Linked DNA regions of Homo sapiens: region 1 is linked to region 2. Evidence: promoter capture Hi-C in human tissues and cell types (Jung and others, 2019). All regions are on one chromosome and are shown on one strand. The core of a region is centred on a gene start or on the middle of the fragment in contact, and the rest is flanking DNA. Distances in the headings are between cores, read along the strand shown. Region 1 has its middle 20 kb from the start of KCNA6-AS1. Region 2 holds the start of DYRK4 (dual specificity tyrosine phosphorylation regulated kinase 4).

What was found. The method cuts DNA at HindIII sites, captures the fragments that hold promoters and counts their contacts. A contact is called where the count stands out against the background at its distance.
Region 1: a contact is called between a fragment that was not itself captured here and the fragment with the promoter of DYRK4 in region 2, in 1 of the 25 tissues and cell types used here (hippocampus).

What each region holds. Positions count from the first base shown.
Region 1 is chr12:4,848,561-4,852,054 of GRCh38, reverse strand. It overlaps a transcript of KCNA6 not described here. Among named protein-coding and RNA genes, the nearest start is that of KCNA6-AS1, 20 kb to the right of the region's middle. The HindIII fragment of the contact is 3,240 bases long and covers 310-3,494 here.
Region 2 is chr12:4,560,530-4,564,202 of GRCh38, reverse strand. DYRK4 (dual specificity tyrosine phosphorylation regulated kinase 4) reads right to left here and starts at 1,995. Exons shown (of 15, transcript NM_001394779.1): 1 at 1,920-1,995. The coding sequence starts at 1,957. RefSeq lists a silencer at 1,866-2,160. The HindIII fragment of the contact is 2,169 bases long and covers 1,542-3,673 here.

The DNA of each region.
Region 1 (3,494 bases), core at 680-3,179, 290 kb before region 2:
AGGGGTGTGTATATGTTTGTGTGTGTGCGTGTTTTTCAGGGATGTTTGACAGCCACCTTCACTTGTAGTAAATAATGTGTGGGCTCCTGATTATTTGTATGTGTTTTAACCGTATGTATTAACCAGATCCAGCACTTCCTTCATTTATTTCCTCACTCATTCATTCACCACACATTGTATGAGTGACAATTCTGTATCAGGTGCTCTGCTAGACACATGGCGAAGGCTACGGTCCCTGCTGTCCAGACTTCTGCAGCAACGTCATGAAGCCCCAGCACTCAGGACAATCTGGGAGGGTGTGGGCATTAAAGCAACCTGGAGCCTCAGCAACACCTCATTAGGAAACAAAATTCCACACAAGAAAATCATCCTAGTCCTTCATTTTGTCAGGAAGTGGAAAAGATACGTGAATGAGTGACTAGCAGTGGGAATGTCCCCCACCAGAGATCCTAGAAGAGTGCAAGGGCTTGTTTGATTGTTAAGAAGTAGCATTACCCCCTTCCACTGAGGACAGGCCAAGAGAGAACAGCTGTCAGTTGCAAGAACAATGCGGGTGACTAGAAAGAACATCCTTACTGTTACCTGGGAGACCCCGCACACAGCATCATCTGGCCTCTGGGAAGTCCATGTAAAAAAATAACTCTGCCCTTGATATTTGCCCACTCGTGTGTCTATCAGAGGCAGATAACTCTTAGATCATGGGTTACGCATCTTACTTTCTTGCAGAATGTCCCCTATCTGTGGGCCGGCTCATGGCAGAGGGTGATCAAGCCCTCTTCCTGGTGATCTATGTGTGGCCATCACATCCTCCTGTGTAGTGAGGATGCCCAGCAAGCTGCAGGTGCTCTGAATTTTGGATCCCTGCCTACTCTTGTGGAGACCGCTTGGCTTGTCTGCCTAACTTGGCCGTCGACGTTTTCTCATGGCATAATGCACAGCCTCTGAGACTTTGCCTTGTGTTTATTTGCCATTCTTCCACAGCCACCCTTGTCCTGGGGGGGTCTGCAACATACCCATGCACCTCCCGGAATCCCCTGACCACCCCATAGCTGGTCTCTTTGCTCACACCACCAGCTTTCACCCTGTTCCTACAGCTTCACCCCAACATTCTGGGCCCCATCTTTAGGGACAACGGGTCTGGTCTCAACTTTTTCTGGCTTGGTTGCTGCTTGTGGGAGGCCTCCAGAGCGGTGTCAGGCCAGATGCCTGCCAGCGGTGCCAGGCAGGGTTCTCGTCTTCTGAAGAAGTTGAGGGTCCAGCTGCTGTCAGAATTCTATGCATAGATGTCCTTGCTTGCACCACCTGCCAGCATTTTTCCTGCCAGGGAGGAACCAGAACAAAAGGACATGTAGTTAGTGATATGAGGTTGTGTCGCATGAGGGATGGAACTGAGAAACCTGGACACACCAGTGTCCTTCCTCACCCCGCTGGCATTTGCCTAGTGAGCTCCTACCGAGTCCCCATCCTTAGGTGCTCTGGTCTGTTCAAACTGTACCTCCCACTGCCACCCACTGAACTCCAGCAACTAATCAGTGACTATGAGCTTGTACAACCTGAAGCCATTTCTGCCCGTGTTGTCCTTAATACTGCTGTCATTAATACTCCACCTTTAATGGCCCCTGAGTCCCTCTAGAGTCAAGTCCAAGCCATGTGCCTGACTTCCAGGCCCCAGAAGGCACAGTCTCATCTGATCTATCCAGCTGCTCTCACTGCTCCCTGACACCTCCCACCATCCACATGGTCGAGGGGTCCCCCTCTCGGACCCTCAGCCTGCACCAGCGTCAGGCGCGTTCCTCTCTCCCTGAAAGAGTTCCTGCCACCACCTGGCTCCTCCTTACCCCGCCCCTACCATGCCGGAATGTTCTCGAGTCTCCTTCCCACAATGCTGAGTCCAGTCCCTCTAGGCCCGGCTGAACCCCCACCTCCAAGAGCCCCTTTGGCTGTCCCCTGCGTGACTGATCTCTCTGCTGCCTTTACCATCTGGCCCACACTCTATTGCAAAGCCTGTGAGATGTGCTGCCCGAAGTCCTGTGTTTAACATCCGCCTCTGCCGTGGCCTGGGCAAAGTTAAACTCCTCACTTGTCATACCTGACACAATGCGTGTGTCTCTGTGACTACCACAAAGCACTCCAAGGGCAAGCCAGCGTAGCCAAACAAACCAGCAATCATTGTCATTTCTGTTTCTGCACGTGAAACGGAAGCAACGACAACAAGGTGTTTGTGAAACTGCTTTGGAAAAGGTAAATAAGGTTTCCATAAACTCCAGTTGGTATCATGATTGTGCCCATGCAATAGATTTCTGCAGAAGGAAAAGACTTCATATTTGTAATTTAAATCATTTGGGAGCAAGCCCAAAGGTCCATAACATGGAGTAACTTGTAATCTTACTCAAGCACAAATTTAACTGTAAAGCCTGGTGCTCAGGACAGCAGTTTGCCTGGTGACAGTCACTGACTGTCTGGCGTCAGACTCACAAGGACATTGCCCAGAGGCTTCCTGCTGGCTTCGTCAGGGTGCAATAGCTCTTGCAAAGTGGTAAAAAAAAAAAAAAAAAAAAAAAAAAAGAGCAAAAATCTCTGTGTGAAATTCCAGTGGCCATCAGGTGAAAGGTAACACCTTAGCAAATGGTCAAAGTTTTCTTTGGTTGTTTCAAAGGGAAATGAACAGAAAGCTCATTGCTCTTCCCACACACATGTGATTCAGGAAAAGACTGTACAGGCACTTTTGCGTTCATAAATGTGGAGTTGTGTCAGGTGCCTGAACACAAGTTCCAAACGCTACGGGTCATTAGACTCAATTCTCCTGCTATGAATGTAAATTAAACATCATAAGCTTTCTCCCTGGACTGCTCTATGGCGCCACCTACAGCATGTTCTTAGGGAATGCACCGTAATTTTTTATTTTATTTTATTAATTTTTATTTTATTTTTATTTTTTGAGATGGGGTCTCGTTCTGTCGCCAGGCTGGGTGCAATGGCGATCTTGGCTCACTGCAACCTCCGACTCCCGGGGTTCAAATGATTCTCCTGCCTCAGCCTCCCGAGTAGCCGGGATTACAGGCGCCCGCTACCACACCCGGCTAATTTTTGTATTTTTAGCAGAGACGGGGTTTCACCGTGTTGGCCAGGATGGTCTCAATCTCGATCTCCTGACCTCGTGATCCGCCTGCCTCCGCCTCCCAAAGTGCTGGGATTACAGGCGTGAGCCACTGAATGCACCGTAATTTTTATATAAGCCCAAAGAAAACATTACTGGGGAAGTCCATCTGATCTAGAGTTTAAAATGGCTGATTAAAAAGTTGGGATCAACTCGACCAACATGGAGAAACCCCGTCTCTACTAAAAATACAAAATTAGCCGGGCGTGGTGGTGCATGCCTGTAATCCCAGCTACTCGGCAGGCCGAAGCAGGAGAATCGTTTGAACCTGGAAGTCGGAGGTTGCGGTGAGCCGAGATCGAGCCATTGCACTCCAGCCTGGGCAACAAGAGCAAAA
Region 2 (3,673 bases), core at 746-3,245:
TTTATTAAACACTAGGTCTTATTTCTTCTATCTAAATGTATTTTAAGTCACACTCATTTCTGCCAGAGAATTCCTTGGACCCTCTGCATATATCCCTGAGACTCTTGAGGGTTCACTGACTCCCAGACTCTAAAGAGCTAGAAGAGGTTTTGGAGACCATGTCATCCATTTTCCCACCCTGGGGAAGAATCCTCTTTCTATGGTATTCCTGGCAATCACTCTGTCTATGCTGGAATATTTCTATGACAGAGTGCACTGTTTTTCTAGGCAACCCATTTCACACTCAACTGTTAATTTACATAGGGTTGGTACTTGATATTTCTTGGAAGAATAAACTATATTGAGCAAAATTTCCTCCACTGATCCTTGCTATCCTCTGCAGAGTACCAAGGAACAAATCTATCTCTTTTCTACTCAAGAGTTCTTGAATGTTCAAAAGTTGAGTAGAAAAAAGCTTTCTCTCCCTTGCATCTCCTCATCTCCAGGCATTCTGTGAAGTTTTTTCAAACCTCTCTTCATGTGATGGCACACCCAGGCCTGACAGAGAGAGCCTGCCTTGTGGTTGTTCCTATTTTCCAGTTCTTTGTGATCTCAAAGTAGCTACAGTTTCTAGAGTCTGGATTATGTTCTACTCATTGCTAAGTCAGGCAGCACGACCATATTCTTTGATGTGGTCATTGCATTTCTATGAATGCAGCCTCCACCAGCATTTGCTCTTTGGGGAGCCATCACAACACACTCACGATGGGCTTAGAGTCAGCTAAAACCACTAAATCCCAGCACTGGGTCCTCCACACGCTTGAGGACTATGCATTCTAGCCAAGTTGCAGGCAACAATATGTGGAGTTGGAGAGGGCAAAGTCAGGGAAGAGTGGCTGGCATATTGCTAGAGAGTCCCTTCCGATTTACCTCTGCTTTCTCCATAAGGACCAAAACAAACAAGAGAAACAACAGATTTAAGTAACAGAAACAATAAGGTAGAGTGCATGTTTGAAGAATTTCTTCGAACTCCTAGGTTTTACATACCGACCACATGTAGGTGATCAAATCGCTCAAGCAAGACAAAGGACATTTTCATTTGTTGTTTCCACGGTTTGAACTTTTCCACTAAATGGCCTCCTGCTTTTGCCGAGTCTCCACTTAAGCCTGGACAGTGAAGCTTGAATTAATATTGGTGATGCTGTCCGTTGCTTAAGACATGTCAGAGGGGTCACGGTTTTCCTAAGCTTTGAGGGGCTGCTGGACATTTCAAATGCAGCAAATGTCACAGAATAGCCTTTAAAAACCCTCAAATTGTGCATTGTTCATCTCTTTTTTAAGGAAAGATTTGCTAATATTGGGAATTTCCTGAGTGGCAGCTCTGGGTGTGTGATCTACACACACCTTCGCGCGCTTTTGTGTCAGGGGCTGGGCCCTGGTTGAGCACAGAGGTGCCCGGGCATATGGGCTGGGTGGGAACATGAGTAATGCCTGCCAGAGCCTCATCCACGCGAGGCGTGTGGTCGTGGACCCACTTACGACTACCAAGAGGACATGCAGTAAAGAAGAGAAAGAAAGGGAGGAAGAAAGTCTGGCGTCCCAGTGAGGGCTGGAAGCACAGTTCCAGGATAGGTCTGCTGAGTTCCTCAGAACCCCTCGCTCCCTGTCCTGCACTCAGCTGGAGTCGCCGATGCGACAGCATCTTAACATGGAAGTATACTGACGTCGGATTCCGGGGATGCAGCTGCTGCAAAAACTACAACTGTATTTTCTTGTCCGCGCACCACAGCCCGCCTCTCTCTGACCCACATTCCCCGGTCAGCTCTTGCATTCTGCACGCTTTTCATTCTCCCCCCACGACCCCGTCGACCAGAAGCTTCGTCGCCTGCCTCGTACTCGCGCCTGACTGCTCGTGAAGTACGAGCCTCCGCGGCCCTTACTTTGTTCCGGTGCGGATAGGCGGCGGGAGGAGCTGCATGAGGCCGGCGCTGACCGCCCGCCGCTGCGGGAGGCTGTGAGAGCCCGGCAGAGGGCAAGGGACGGCCACGCCCTCCTCCCGTCGCTATAGAAACGGCTCCCGCCCTTTTTATGACTCCAGAGCTGGAAGGGCTTTCTCAGGCTGTGGTCCCAAACCACCTTGCAGAGTAGCAGCCTGAAGAACATACTCCTCGTCCTCCTACTCGCATTCTCTTGCCCCAGTTCTTTAAAGTATAGGGCAAGAATTGAACAAAATCCCAGCATAAAGAACTTAAAGTTGGTTGCCCAGACCGGACACATGAAATTATCCCTACTCTCTCCCCTTCTTCAAGCGAAGCATGTGGTTATCAGAATTACATCACAGAAGTTCTGGCCGGGCGCGGTGGTTTTACACCTGCAATCCCAGCACTTTGGGAGGCCTAGGCAGACCACTTGAGGTCTGGAGTTCGAGACCAAACTGCTCAAAGTAGTGAGACCCCCCCGCCCCTGTCTCTATTTAGACATTTTTTTCTGTAATCCCAGCACTTTGAGAGGCCAAGGCGGGTGGATCACGAGGCCAAGAGATCAAGACCATCCTGGCCAACATGGTGAAACCCCGTCTCTACTAAAAATACAAAAATAAGCGGGGCGTGGTGGTGCGTGCCTGTAGTCCCAGCTACTTGGGAGGCTGAGGCAGGAGAATCGCTGGAACCCGGGAGGCGGAGGTTGCAGTGAGCCGAGATCGCGCCACTGCACTCCAGCCTGGCGACAGAACGAGACTGCATCTCAAAAAAAAAAAAAAAAAAGAAAAAAAGAAAAAGAAAAAGAAAAAAAGTAAGTACATAGCAAAAGTTCTGGGTAAAATCCATATATCAGCTGAACACTTTTTGAGTGCTTACTCTGCACCAGATTGTAGAAAGCATGAAAAGGGAAATTTGTAATTGAGTGGCAGTAGGTTGACCTGGAGGTGCACAGTCTGGTCCAGGCAGAAAAGACATTCAAATGAAGCTTTCTGAAAGAGCTGAGTTGAATCTGAGTCTTCAAGGACAGGCAGTAGTTGTCTACGTAAAGGAGGCAAGTCCTATTCTGAAGGCCAGAGCCATAGAAAAGCTTGGTACCATTGTGCCAGCACCCAGTTTAGTGGGGCAGGGATCAAAGTTGCACGTGGGCAGAGACAAGGTTGAAGCAGCAGGAAAGGGGGAGTCAGACACCAAGTAGGCTATGAACTCGACCAGGGTAAGGTGTGTATGTGCAGACTGCAGAGGGGTGTTCATGCTGACTTTATTTTATAAAACCCTCTGTGGCAATAACAATGGAAGTAGGCCCGAGTAGGTTAAGAATCAAGGCAAGGATGCCTGTTAGAAATAGTGAGTGATGATGTTTCAGAGTAAGGGAGAGCACATGGAAGAGTAGTTTTGAGAAATTTAGGAAATGGAGTAAGACTTGGTGACTGGATGTGAAAGTCGAGAGAAGACTCAATCCCAGGATGACACCTTTGGCACCTGCAGTGATGGTGGTGCCATTCATTTACCAACAGAAAACACAGGAGAGATGTCAGGGGTAGGAGGAGACGTTGAATTTAACAACTGATCTGCTACATCAAATTGTCAGTGGACCATCCACAGGTTCTGTTGTCAAGAGCATGGTATAGGGTACAGACCCTGACTTGGCAGTCACTGTCACATAAGTGACCCCTGGAGTTTGCATAGAACATGAAACTGGTAAGACAAGTAGGTAA